Regions from separate parts of the Homo sapiens genome. Here regions 2 and 3 are each linked to region 1. Evidence: promoter capture Hi-C in 16 types of primary human blood cells and fetal thymus (Javierre and others, 2016). All regions are on one chromosome and are shown on one strand. Each heading gives the region's core, a stretch centred on a gene start or on the middle of the fragment in contact. The rest is flanking DNA. Distances are from core to core; before and after follow the strand shown.

Region 1 (4,508 bases), core at 845-3,344:
TGGAGCTGCCTGCCAGTCCCGCGCCGTGCACCCGCACTCCTCAGCCCTTGGGTGGTCGATGGGACTGGGCGCCATGGAGCAGGGGGTGGCGCTCGCTGGGGAGGCTTGGGCTGCACAGGAGCCCATGGAGGGGGTGGGAGGCTCAGGCATGGCGGGCTGCAGGTCCCGAGCCCTGCCCCGCGGGAAGGCAGCTAAGGCCCGGTGAGAAATCGAGTGCAGCGCCGGTGGGCTGGCACTGCTGGGGGACCCAGTACACCCTCTGCAGCCACTGGCCCGGGTGCTAAGCCCCTCATCACCCGGGGCCGGCAGGGGCGGCCGGCTGCTCCGAGTGAGGGTCCCGCCAATCCCACGCCAACCCGGAACTCCAGCTGGCCCGCAAGCACCCTGCGCAGTCCCGGTTACCCCTCGCGCCTCTTCCTCTACACCTCCCTGCAAGCTGAGGGAGCTGGCTCTGGCCTTGGCCAGCCCAGAAAGGGGCTCCCATAGTGCAGCGGTGGGCTGAAGGGCTCCTCAAGTGCCGCCAAAGTGGCAGCCCAGGCAGAGGAGGCGCCGAGAGTGAGGGAGGGCTGTGAGGACTGCCAGCACGCTGTCACCTCTCAAGATCTCATTACCTTGTCCAGGCTGGTCTTGAATTCCTGAGCTCAAGTGATCCTCCTGTCTTGGCCTCCCAAAGTGTTAGGATTACAGGCATGAGCTGCTGTGCCTGGCCAAAAGTAACTTGATAATTTGCACACAGGTGCCACATAATCCTGGTGGTACAGGTTGTACTGTCCAATACACTAGCCACATTTTACTTAAAGTGATGTGAAATTTAAAGTTCAGTTCCTCAGTCATGCTAGACAATTTACAAGTGCCCAATGGCCACATGTGGCTAGTGGCTACTGTATTGGGCAATGTTTAGGTATCGAAAATTTTCACCATCACAGAAGGTTCTATTGCACAGCACTGGACAGACCCTGCTTCTAAACTATTCTACGCAATTTGCTAGGTGAACGATCTTTAATGCAAATCTAAACATGGTCTTCTTTTGCTCAAAAGCCTTCAATGATTTTCTCTTCCATCAGCAGCAATCAGTTAATAGAGTTTTTTTCTTTTAAAAATGGTTGTAATGGAAAGTTAAATCAATTTTGAATCAATTTTGTGTGTTAAGACCAGCATTAAAAACAAGTAGCAAAAGAGAGAAGGGAAAGTACTTATGGATCATTAGTACAGTTTTGTGAAATTTTTGTTTTGGTCATATCTATATTTCTTTGCCTCTATAACTAGATTTCCACCTCTTCATAACTTGATGTCTGTATGATATTCCACTGGGTTGCAATGAAAAAAATCTTTCTAGTTGTGTGTGGTGAGCAAAAAATTTGGGCTTATGGGATAAGAAGTCTGAGCTCCGTAATGAAGCATTATAAGGCCCTCTATGATCTGATCCCTTGCTAATTCATTTCTAAGTCTCACCACTGTCTTGCACTTAGGTTCCATTAATACAGAATTGCTGCTGGTTTCACCTGAGACACGAAGCTTTATTTTTCTTTTCTTTTTTCCATCTCTGTTGCGTTTCCTCATTCTGAACTGTTTCCTTGGACTGCCAGTTCTACCTTCTTTTTGCCTGGAGAACTTATCATCATCTAAGGCCAACTTAGGAAACACCTACAGCAGGAATCCTGCCTAAATGCTCCAGGGCGGGCTGGCTGTCCTTCTTTGACCTTTCAGAGCATCCCACACACATCCGTTTACGGGGTTATAATAACGTAATTATTTATTTAGGTGTTCATTTCCGGCACTATACTAAGTTCTTTCAGTGCAGGTACTATCTTATTCATCTTTGTATCTGAAGCGAGAAGCGCGGTACCTGTAACAAACTAGGCATTCATTCAATAAATATTTGTTGAAAGAATAAACGCAAGAAGGAAGGAAAAATCAATCAACAACTGTGCGGACAATGTCAGTGCAACGCAGACTCCGGCCATCAGAGGGCGCCGGGGCGGCTGGGCTGGTGCGCAGGCGCGCTGAGAGGGCTGGCGCCGCGGCGGTAGCGGTGGCGGTCGCGGCTGTGGCCGGGGGAAGTGAATGGTTTTACCCAGAGGGCCCTGCGCCGCCTTTCTCCGCTGGCAACGGCGCCGCTCCCCGCTCCTCCTCCCCAGCCATGGCGTTCACGTTCGCGGCCTTCTGCTACATGCTGGCGCTGCTGCTCACTGCCGCGCTCATCTTCTTCGCCATTTGGCACGTGAGTAGCTGGGGCTGGGGAAAGGAGGGCGAGGCGGCAACACAGCCTCTTTTCGCCCCGGGCCCGCGGTCCGGGCCGCCACGGCCGCCGGGGCTTTGCGCGTCGGGGATGCGGCCCGGCTGGCACGGGCCGCGCGGCGAGGGGTCTGGGGGCCGCGGGTACTGGAGGAGCCGGGGCGCGCAGTCGCCAGGTGGACGCGCCCGCGTTGCCTCGGCACAGGCCGCGCGCACCGCTACTCCTCCCCTACTGGATGGGGCGGCCGCGGTCCAGGCGGGCGCCCGCGGTTCCGCGCTGCGTTCGCACCGACCTCTGCCGGCCCGCGGCCCTGCATTCCCGGGGAGGATGTCGACAGCGCGGTGGGACGGCCGTAGTGTGAATGAAGTTTTCCGAATTTTTGTTAATACAGATTGACTTTCTTTTAGGGTTTCCACAGAACTGTGGCCAAAATGTAACCTACTTAGGGTGAATTTCCAACTCTACTTTTCAGCACTTGTTCGGTGCTCTTCAAATCAAATCACTTTTTTTCTCTTTTTCCAGATTGTTGTTTCCTGGTGAACTTTGATGCAAGTTCAATTGATTACTTTGTTGATTGCATGTGCGCGTTTCCCCCCCAAATCATACTTTGACCGCTGGAGTTTCAACAGGCAGCTTTCCAAGCCACCCTTATATTCAGGATTGCTTGATTTAGTAGAGGGAGTTTTCATTTGATTTTGAGATGCTCAGAAACCTTAAGCTTTTCTGGGGCAGTATTTATTTCTGTTACACACATCATCATCACTATTGCAGGGTGGAAGCACAGCCTTACTGGTCCCTCTAAGGAAAAAGTCGTAAGTTCCCTGTGACATAGTTCTACAGAGATAAGAATTTCTGTTGCTTTAGCACAAAATTAAAAGCCTTGAGAGCCTTCTGGAAATCATTCATTAAAAATTTATCTCATACTTGCTTCTCTTTTCCCCATATTCCAGTGCCTTCTGGAATGTTGCTTTTAATTTGAATGACCGCGTTCACTCTTACGTAGATTTTAAGTCAGGTTTCATCATGCCAGTAACAAGGATTTCTATGAAACATACGGAGGGGCAGAATGATTAAACAGCAGCAGCGTCTTGTGCAAAAAAGTCTCGAAAGTGGAAGCATATCACAAATCCATTCCTTTTTGCTAAGCAGTGTGATTATGTTTACAATTATTTTAGGACCTGACTGCTTATTGTAATCAGGAATACTTATGTAGGCTATTAACTGTGTCGGAAATAACTGCTACCTCAGAATGCTTGTCAGTAGGAGCAGTAATTTGAAGAGCATCTTCAGCCCTGCTTTGATGGAAGAACAATACCTAAGATAATTTGGGATACAGACTAGCTCAACCTTAGTAGGCCTCTGATGAAAATGTGTGGTTCCATGGCCGGGCGCGGTGGCTCACTCCTGTAATCCCAGCACTTTGGGAGGCCGAGGCGGGAGGATCACGAGGTCAGGAGTTCGAGACCAGCCTGGCCAACATGGTGAAACCCCGTCTCTACTAAAAATACAAAAAAATTAGCCGGGCATGGTGGTGGGCGCCTGTAATCCCAGCTACTCGGGAGGCTGAGGCGGAGGAGAATCACTTGAACCCAGGAGGCAGAGGTTGCAGTGAGCCGCGATGGCGCCACTGCACTCCATCCTGGGCGGAGACTCCGTCTCAAAAAAAAAACAAAAAAAAAGAAAGAAAGAAAGTGTGTGGTTCCATTCCATCTGTAGATGTAGCTTTAAGTCATTCTGCTTGATGGGTATTCCTTTTTTCTGGGATGATGGGGATTCTTAGAGTGGTGGGGTAGGCTTTTTCACATTTTTACGTTTTGAACCAGGTTGTGTTTGGCTTAAGGAAAACCTGAACCGCACTTTCAAAAAATGGGTAATTTCAGCTTAAACAAATGCGTGTCTGGGTGAAGTAAATAATTTTAAGTCGTGTTATACAATGAAAAAAAAATTATACCGCAGATTCGTGGAGAGCTTTTATGCTTAGGGATTTCTTCATTCAGAGAATTAGTATCCTTTTGGAAACAATTCTAAATAAATAGATAGTTTTAATTTTTCTATTACCCATATAACCTTATGTTTATCATCTTAGGTAGTATCTTAGTCCATTCCTTTATAGTGTTTATAGTGTTGCTATACAGGAATACGGGAGGCTGAGTAATTTACAAAGAAAAAAGAGGTTTATTTACCTCAGGATTCTGCTGACTATAAGACTGGGCATCTGGTGAAAGTCTCAGCCTGCTTCCACTCATGGTGGGGGAGTAGTGTGTGGAGATCC
Region 2 (4,508 bases), core at 1,127-3,626, 1.7 Mb after region 1:
TATCACCTTAGTTAGGTGTACACATCATAATTCTTAATAGACCTAGACTTCCATGCTAGGTAAAACCATTTATATTAAGAGGTTTTGCTCCAGGTAGATTTAAGATCTCTTAAATCTAAAAAATTTCAAATAATGTTTTTTAAATAAACCACACACTTGATTGGGGTGATGGTTACACAGATATATAACTTGTCCAAACATATTTGAAATGTACACTTAAGAATCTACATTTTTTTAATGTAATTATACCTCAATGAAAAATTATACCACAAAAAAATCAGTTAAGTCAAATGAACATATAAACAAAAAACACAACTCAAAAGATCTATACTAGTTTGCATTTGAAAATACAACACAAAATAATTCTAAAATGGGGGATGGATTTGACAACATACCAAGAGAAAAGGTATATACAATTTTTATCTGTTGGCATTTTGCCACGGCAGCTTTTAAAGAACAGTATGTTCTGCTCTCAAGACTGATTCAAGGAAGAAAAGTAGAGACTAGAGAAATTGAAGATCTGAAAGTCCAATTTAAATTACTTATAGTACCAGTAACTTAAGAGAGAAATTTCTTTTTTTTTGAGACAGAGTCTGTTGCCCAGGCTGGAGTGCAATGGCATGATCTTGGCTCATTGCAACCTCTGCCTCCCGGGTACAAGAGATTCTCCTGTCTCAGCCTCCTGAGTAGCTGGGACTACAGGCGCCACCACCACACCTGGCTAATTTTTGTACTTTTAGAAGAGATGGGGTTTCACTGTATTGGCAGGCTGGTCTTGAACTCCTGACCTCAGATGATCCACCCACCTCAGCCTCCCAGAGTGCTGGGATTACAGGCGTGAGCCACCATGCCTGACCGAGAGAGAAATTTCTATTGAATAGTTGTGTTGGGCTAGGTGCGGTGGCTCACGCCTGTAAATCCCAACACTTTGGGAGGCCAAGGCTGGAGGATGGCTTGAGTTCAGGAGTTCGAGAAGAGCCTGGACAACATGGTGAAACCCCATCTCTACAAAAAATAAAAAAATTAGTCACATGTGGTGGCGCATGCCTTCAGCTACTTGGGAGGGTGAGGTGAGAGGATGACTTCAGCCTGGGAGGTAGAGGTTGCAGTGAGCTGAGACTGCACCACTGCATTCCAGCCTGGGCAAAAGAACCAGACCCTGTCTCAAAAGAAAAAAAAAAGTTGTGTCCATATGTGCATAAAGCGTGACTGGGAAAAGCCAGAAGTGAGAGAAATCAATACTCTAAAGTGTAAAGTATCTGCAGACAGTAAAGGATACTGCATGTATACATGGGATTCTTTCTGCTCCTATGGCTAATGCAGCAAATCACTGTTGAAAGCAAGTTTTCACCGTTTTATGAAGCACCTGTTCTTCCTCTGTTGCCCTTTCATTAATACAGGTGAGAACTGCCTTTTTTTTTTACACTTAGACCAGTGCTTCCTCAAGTATTGTCAAAGAAAAATTTGGTTTCATAATCACTTGGAATGCTTGTTTAAATGCTAATTCCTGTGCCTACCCCCAATCTAGTCCATCAAAACCACTCAGAGGGCCTAGTAATGTGTATTTTTAATAAGTGTTCCAAAAAAAATTAATGTACTGAAGTATGAGAACTGGCTTAAAGCTTAAATCAGATTGTGTAAGACATTCCAATTATTCCCATTAATTCCTAAATATTCACAGCCTAATTTAGGATAAAATCCATAGGACAATGTAATTTGCTTTACAGATAACAGTTAAGAAGCTGTCTGTGCTATGAAGTAAGGCAATCCTGATTTGACTGTTCACCTAAAAGCTTACAAGATTTAAGACAATCCTAAAGCCAGTGGTTTTCTGGAATGGCAGCAAACAGCTTTAACAAAATAAAATATTTAAGGAACAGGTACCCTACTCTTCTGTAAGAGTGGGAAGCTAGTATTAATGAGGTTATGGAAAAAACTCATCACACACATTATCCAAATATGCTCTGACCCAAGTAACTTATTATGATAATCAAAACCACAGGATATCAGATTACATCAATTATTTTTAGCTTTTTCTCCGTTCCTTTGCCACAAAAAGAGCAGGATTTTTCTAACACCAAATTATCTCCAAATAAAAAAAAACAGTAATTTTCACAGCTAGAAATTCAGTGCTATTCTTCTTAGCAAGAATAGTAAATACATAATATTCTTAACTACCATTTAGACAAAAAGTACTTTTTCATCCTGTTTCTCCTGTTAAGAATCCTAAAACTAGTAGTATTTATTAGCTAAGTTCAGAGAACAAGGCACACAGTACCAACCTCTCTTAATTCCCGGATCTGTTCTGATAGCCCTCCAATCTCAGAATAAGAAACATTCCCAGGGTCCTCATGAGACATGTTATAAACCAGTGGATCCACCTCTCTCGGCAAATATCTAGAATGAAAAGGTATGTATTTTTCTTTTGAAAGATATATTTTCTCTTAGCCTACAGATAGCATATAAATAACTTGCTCAAGCAAGCACCTGTAGCTGATCTCATAAAGATGTGCTTAATTAGAAACTAGTAAAAGGGAAAAAGTGCCAAAATATTCAGTGATCTCAAGAAGCATATATCTCAGATAAAAACCACCCTTTGTGAAAATAAAAGGTGAACTAAATAGAATAAGAAACCCACCTCATGATAGTTAGTGTAGTCATATCCAAAGCAACTCTTGTTCCTGGCTTCAGCTTACTTTTGTCAAGCTAGTTTTGTAAAACAAAAGATATTACATCAACACTTAAAAACGGAATAACACTCTAACGAGAGTTTAATATTTAGAAGCCAAACACTCATTTTTACCCTCCAGAGAGAACACAAATATCAGATTATAAACTCTATGCTAACAAAATGGCTTATAAAATAAGTAATTCAAAGTGATTTCCACCTGCTCCTTAAAAGCATGCCCCTTTGTGTAATCTCAGTGTAAAATGTGAAATGACTAACACACAAAGCTTGAGGCAGCAATGGTACAGTGACTTTGGGAATTGCTACCAAAGCATTTATAGAAAAATCCCTTAGTGAACATTTTAGGGAAAGGAAAGGGAAGCATTTTAAAGGTGTGCTCATCAGATTTATTTTGAAATGTACAGCTTCTGGGAAGAATGTGTTAAATGCTCATGAGAGTAGAGAAAAATGCACGGTTTCCCCTTAGAGATTTTTATTAAAATGCTTTAAATTTAAAGCCCCAAAACCCAGCAACCATCACTCATGCCTTTGCTACATGACAGGCACATGCTGAACACATTACACATTAGGTTGAATCATACTAAATAATTTCTTGGCTTATCTGGCTAAAATTAGAATCTACTAGATCTGCCTCACTCTCAGGATGTTGTTACTTTTCAAAGATAAAGTTACTTTTTTTTTTGAGATGGAGTACGGAGTCTCACTCTGTCGCCCAGGCTGGAGTGCAGTGGCGCCATCTTGGCTCACAGCAACCTCTGCCTCCCTGGTTTAGGCAATTCTCCTGCCTCAGCCTCAAGTAGCTGGGATTACAGGTGTGTGCCACCATGCCCGGCTAATTTTTTTTTGTATTTTTTAGTAAAGACGGGGTTTCACCATGTTGGTCAGGCTGGTCTTGATCTCCTGACCTCGTGATCTGCCCACCTCAGCCTCCCAAAGTGCTGGGATTACAGGCATGAGCCACCCCGCCCGACCCAAGTTACTTTTTAATAGTTTAAAAAACTGCGTGCCAATACAATTTCGGAATCATATAAATTACTGACCACTTGTCACAGGATTTTACAAAGAGCTTCAAATTTAGGAAGATAGGCAAAACACTAGGATTAATATAACAATTAAGGAAAAAACGGCTAAGAAGTGAGGTTACTTGAAAAAATAAGAGGAGAAATCAATATGAAGCTATTTCAATGTTTACATCTATAGGAAATACAGGCTGAGTATTCTTAATCTGAAAATCCAAAATGCTCCACAATGTGAAATTTTTTGAATGCTGACATGATGCTCAAAGAAAATGCTCATCGGAGCATTTCAAACTTTTGATTTTTTTTAATTAGGGATGCTCAACCAGTACAACACAAATATTCTAAAACCTGAAAAAAAAAAAGCCAAAATCTAAAACACATTTCTGGCTCAAGCATTTTGGATAAGGGATACTCAACTTATATATACTTCGGCTTTTCTAATGTTTTTTAGTCTTCAAATACAGTCTTGTCCTCATGCAACCTGAAATATCTTAGAAATGCCAACTTTCGGCATCCACAGAGCCCTGAAAGGGACATGAAAATCCCTTGTCAGTTTAGGTATCTAATATTTTGACTTAGAAAATGTCAACCGCTTATATACTAGGCAAAATCCTAATAGGAGATTTATAGTTCCTGGATTAAATTCTCCCTTACAGCCATGTTCTGTGAATGTTTTAAAACCTGAACCTGAAATGACAATTAAACAGAGAAAACTCTTCCAATGAATTTAAAAGAATTATCTAAGGACACTTCCTAAAGAATAATACATAAATTGATTTCAGACACTACTGAATGACTTG
Region 3 (4,508 bases), core at 1,302-3,801, 1.1 Mb before region 1:
AATTAAAAACACATGTTCCATTCAAGTTAAGAAATTAACTTACACATAGGAAATGTATAAGACACATTCAACTTTTAAAAAAACAATTATGATTCAGTATTCTACGTGTCATCTTAACCATGACAGGCTGATTAAGAACTTTTAACCATAACTTAACATTCAAGTTAAGAACTTAAGAACAGTGACAATCTTAATATGGGTTCTTTAGAAGTCTCAAAAAGGTTTTCACGTCTTAGGCTCTTTTAAAAAGCCATATTGACTGATATTAAAAATATAATTATTAAAACGATCTCCCTACCAAAAGCAGATTAAAGCCTATAAACTAGAAGGGAGACTGAAGTGAGGCATTTTTAGGGACAAACACAACATCAAACAGAAGAGACTACTGGTATTAAAAGAATACAGAAAGATCTAAATTGGAAACAAAATCGTAAATGTCTCTTCATAATGCTGACGCTGAATCATTAAGAGTTAAATACTTGATATTCTTTATAATTTTCAAGTATTAAGAAAATTTTTCAATAGATCTTGTTATATTTTCAAATTCATTATCAGCCTCAAGTAAATCAAGTAGAACACCTTATTCTCTAAGCTCACTTGATAAGGTATTGTTATGTCTGATGAAGGCTACAAAATTAGAAGAGACATTTGAAACTCAATGTTGGGGTGGGAGGGAAACTCATGAACAGACCCAGCTATTTCAGGTTAGATCCTTAAACTAAAAAAAAAGGAAAAAGGAAAAAAAAAAAGAGCCTTTTTTATCAGGCAGCACATCAAATATGAAAGTCTACTGCAAGGCATGTCTACCCAAAATACTCAAGAGTAATTTAGTGTTATTCTTGGGATCATTATCCCAAGTCTCACCAGCTTGGGATCATTATCCCAAGTCTCACCAGCAATTGCTTCGGACCAAACTGGAGACACTGTTGCCATTAGCCTGCTAGGTAAGCTAAGGAAAACAAATGCAACCTAATTTAGCAAAAATTCTAACTTTAAGTCAACTCCTATACAATTCAGAACCTTTAGTTCACCGAAGATGCTTATCTTTAGCTGGGCTGGCCATGAGTGTCTACATTTCTCAAGGCTTTCCACAAAGTCATCACACACACACACACCTTAACAGTTAACTTCAACCGTAGCTCTTTACTCAAGGCTTTCCACAAAGTCATCACACACACACACTCACACACACACACACACCTTAACAGTTAACTTCAACCGTAGCTCTTTAAGCACTACTAACTTAAATAGCGGCTAAGGAATCCGTTTGCCAACACAGTTCTGAATTTAGATTCCTCCTTCCTCCCACAGGAAAGAAGGGCCAACACTGAACAGCTTACTTTCAACCTAACCTAGTCAAGGTGCAACTGGGGCCGGCTGGGACGCCGCTGCCCGCGTCCGGGGCTGCCCACATCTAGTGCACCCAGCGCCTTCACCGCCAGCATGCGGGGCTGCACATCCCACACCAGACGTATGGCTGAGAGCCAGACGACTTCTCTAGACTTCCCGCGTAGTTTTCCGGCGAGGTCCCCAAGGCCAAAAATCTCACTTTTGGAAACTGAAGGGGTCAGGCCGAATCGCTAGGACACACCCCTCGGGGACAGGAAGGGATAACTTCGCCGGTGTCGAGAGTGGTCCATGGATTTTTCCAAAGTCCCCCCTCATGCTGCTTTCCGTGCCCAACCGCCTCCCGCCCTGACCTGGGGACTCGCAAAGGGCAGCGGGAGGGGCGCCGGGGAAGGGGGCGAGCGCCCAGACCGCCGGAGGCAGCGGCGAGGACTGGAACTCCAGCATGGCGTAAGTGTGGCCCAGCTCCGGCCCGGGGACGCCGCCGGAGACGCGCTGCCTCCGTCCACCGGCCGAGGAGGCGGTAATCCGCCTTCCCTCCCGGGGGCCCTCAGGCTTGGCTAAAAATAGGTGCCTCGGTCACCCCAGGGCCCGCTCGGGTCGACCTCGCCTTCGGGAGAGTCGTCCTTGGGGAGGGTGGGGGGTGTCCCTCGGCCGCGCCCCGGGTGCCGCGACAGAGCCGGGGTCGGGCCCAGAGCGGCCCCGCGAGGCCGAGGAGGTCCCTCCGAGCCCGCCCCCTGCGGCGTCCCGGCCCCAACAAGAGCCCCGCGGCGGCAACCGGATGCCCGAGGCCTACCCAGCGGGCGGCGTCCGGGCCCCGCGGCCGCGCCCCCCCGCCCGGCGCGGCCCTCCCGCCTGCCCCAGGACCCCGCGGCCGGCGCCGCCTCCCCCCGCGCTCCCCGCCGCCGGCGCCCGTCCCGGTGCGGCCTGCTCTCCCTCACCCTGTGCGGCCGGGAAAGGAGACCGGGAAGACGCGGCGGCGCCGGCACTACAGCCCGGGCCGCCCGCTCCGAGGCGCCGCCGCCGCCGCCGCCGCCGCCGCAGTCGCTCAGGTGCCGTCGCGCCGCTCGGCAGGAAACGGGCGGCTTCGGGGCGGGGCGGGGCGGACCCGGCACGTCCTGGCGTCTGGGCCGGCGGCGCCGGGAGACCGGCCCCTTAAAGGGACAGCCGCCGGCCCGCCTCTGCCTCCGCGCGCCTGCCCACGCGCTCCGGTACTCGCTGCTCGCGGCTGGCCGGCTCGGGATTCCGGGCTTTCTTCCCGAGACCGCGTCCCCCAGCTGGGCCGAAGGTGGACGCTCAGGGGCTGGAGGCTCAGCGGAATCCCCTGCGTTCAGTAGCCCCGCTCTCCCCTGTCCCGAAGGTTGGTCTCGTCTCGCGCGGCCCTCCCTCCAGGGCACCACCTGGCTCCCCACGCCTTTTAACTTCAGCAAACGGCACTAGATTTACCCCCTGACTATCCCAGATTTCCCCCAGAAATTACTGGAAAACGACATCCCCCGTCCCTTTCTCCAGGGGATCTCTCTGAAATCTCCTTCGGGCAACGCTAGCTACAAACGGAGAAAGAAATTAGAAAGCGACCCAAATAATGGTCGGGCGCGGTGGTTCACGCCTGTAACCCCAGTACTTTGGGAGGCCAAGGCAGGCGGATCACCTGAGGTCAGGAGTTCGAGACCAGCCTGGCCAACATATAGTAAAACCCGTCTCTGCCAAAAAAAGTACAAAAAATTAGCTGGGCATAGTGGCGCACGCCTGTAGCCCCAGCTACTTGGGAAGCTGAGACAGGAGAATCGCAGGAATCTAGGAGGCGGAGGTTGCAGTGAGCCGAGATCTCGCCACTGCACTCCAGCCTGGGCGAGAGAGTAAGACTCTCCGTTTCTCTCAAAAAAAAAAAAAAAAAAAGGAAAGAAAAGAAAGCGACCCAAATGAGTTGTGTGCAAACATTATGAAAGTGTTGTGACTGCCAGCTGGTAGCCATTTATGAAGCCGGGGTAAAAATCTAGAAACTGCTGCGCGAGGAGGGATGGGCCCGGATCTCTCCTTATTCGTTTGCTCTTTGCTGAAAGGATGGCAGCGATCCTCCCCGTCCACTGGCAAGTGAGTTTCGTGTGGATTGTTTACCGATGATCAATCTCTCACAGGAGGCCAGGCACTGCCCCACTACATGTACAAAACACTCCAAGCTGTCCGCAAATGTTATGAAGGCTTAAAATAATCCTAACGATTCCAGACTGTGGATAGAGATAGAAAAAATTAGGACTCACCACCACCACCTCGCCCTACATCTGACAAAGTGGGAACAGAAGCAGTTAAGGAATGAACAGCAGAACCGTTTCTACACCAACAGAATTTCCTGTACATGGGCTGGTTAAAAGTATCCATACTTTTTATTCTAATCATTTCTAAGTTTTCTAGAGCACCTCCAAAATACAAATGAAAACTGCGCAGTGTATAGTGGCCTGAGATATTGAGAATTCTGCCAGTCTTCAGTCACCGTGTTCTCCACAGATGCATTGTCTTATTTTAACTCCAGAGGCGTCCTCTTTTTTCTTTCTCATTAGGATTACTCTGCCCCTCAGCGGTTCCAGTGCCCTCAAAGCAATCTGTCTCTGAAGTACTGGCTATCTTCTGAGCGTGTGCCAGAAGATCCAGCTTTGTTGAAAAGCGAAGCCGTTAGTCCCTTAATACAAAGGGTAAGTGTATCATTTATGTAATGGAGTTTAAGGGCTCTTGATTAGCTTACAAACAACCATGTTATTTCCTCAGGTTAGTACTAACGCAGGTTTTAGGTTAGAATTAAAAATTTATATCATTCATTTTCCTGACCAGTAAAACCGCAATGTCATTTACAGGCAATAATATTTCGGTGCACTTGTAAGTAAGACAATGAGTGGAGTTTAGGATTTTCTCAAAACATACTACTGCTTATACTAAAGGATGACTTTGTATCACCTATTTCGGCTTTTCTGGCGTTTGAACTTTGACTATAGAAAGGGAAGTGGTTGAATGCTTTATTTTTTATAAGCTTTCTATTTATTCACATCAAAACAAAAAGATTTACTAGAGGCCGGGCGCAGTGGCTGACACCTGTAATCCCAGCACTTTGGGAGGCCGAGCTGGGTGGATCACCTGAGGTCGGGAGTTCGAGACCACCATGGCCAACA

Evidence for each region. The method cuts DNA at HindIII sites, captures the fragments that hold promoters and counts their contacts. A CHiCAGO score of 5 or more calls a contact.
Region 2: a contact is called between a fragment that was not itself captured here and the fragment with the promoter of CNIH1 in region 1, in 1 of 17 cell types (M2 macrophages). The highest score is 5.5, in M2 macrophages.
Region 3: a contact is called between the fragment with the promoter of KTN1-AS1 here and the fragment with the promoter of CNIH1 in region 1, in 1 of 17 cell types (total CD8 T cells). The highest score is 6.2, in total CD8 T cells.

The regions. Positions count from the first base shown.
Region 1 is chr14:54,438,960-54,443,467 of GRCh38, reverse strand. It overlaps CNIH1 (cornichon family member 1), which reads left to right and starts at 2,094. Exons shown (of 5, transcript NM_005776.3): 1 at 2,094-2,221. The coding sequence starts at 2,141. RefSeq lists enhancers at 1,751-1,810, 1,687-2,485 and silencers at 1,891-2,160, 2,201-2,560, 2,571-2,620. The HindIII fragment of the contact is 1,439 bases long and covers 1,518-2,956 here.
Region 2 is chr14:52,709,299-52,713,806 of GRCh38, reverse strand. It overlaps PSMC6 (proteasome 26S subunit, ATPase 6), which reads right to left. Exons shown (of 14, transcript NM_002806.5): 5 at 2,639-2,706; 6 at 2,283-2,397. Among named protein-coding and RNA genes, the nearest start is that of PSMC6, 4.4 kb to the right of the region's middle. The HindIII fragment of the contact is 1,162 bases long and covers 1,796-2,957 here.
Region 3 is chr14:55,578,135-55,582,642 of GRCh38, reverse strand. It overlaps KTN1-AS1 (KTN1 antisense RNA 1), which reads left to right and starts at 2,551. Exons shown (of 3, transcript NR_027123.1): 1 at 2,551-2,707; 2 at 3,906-4,037. It overlaps KTN1 (kinectin 1), which reads right to left and starts at 2,436. Exons shown (of 44, transcript NM_001079521.2): 1 at 2,289-2,436. RefSeq lists silencers at 1,118-1,412, 1,592-2,231, 2,292-2,551 and enhancers at 2,992-3,081, 3,092-3,211. The HindIII fragment of the contact is 5,026 bases long and covers 1-4,371 here.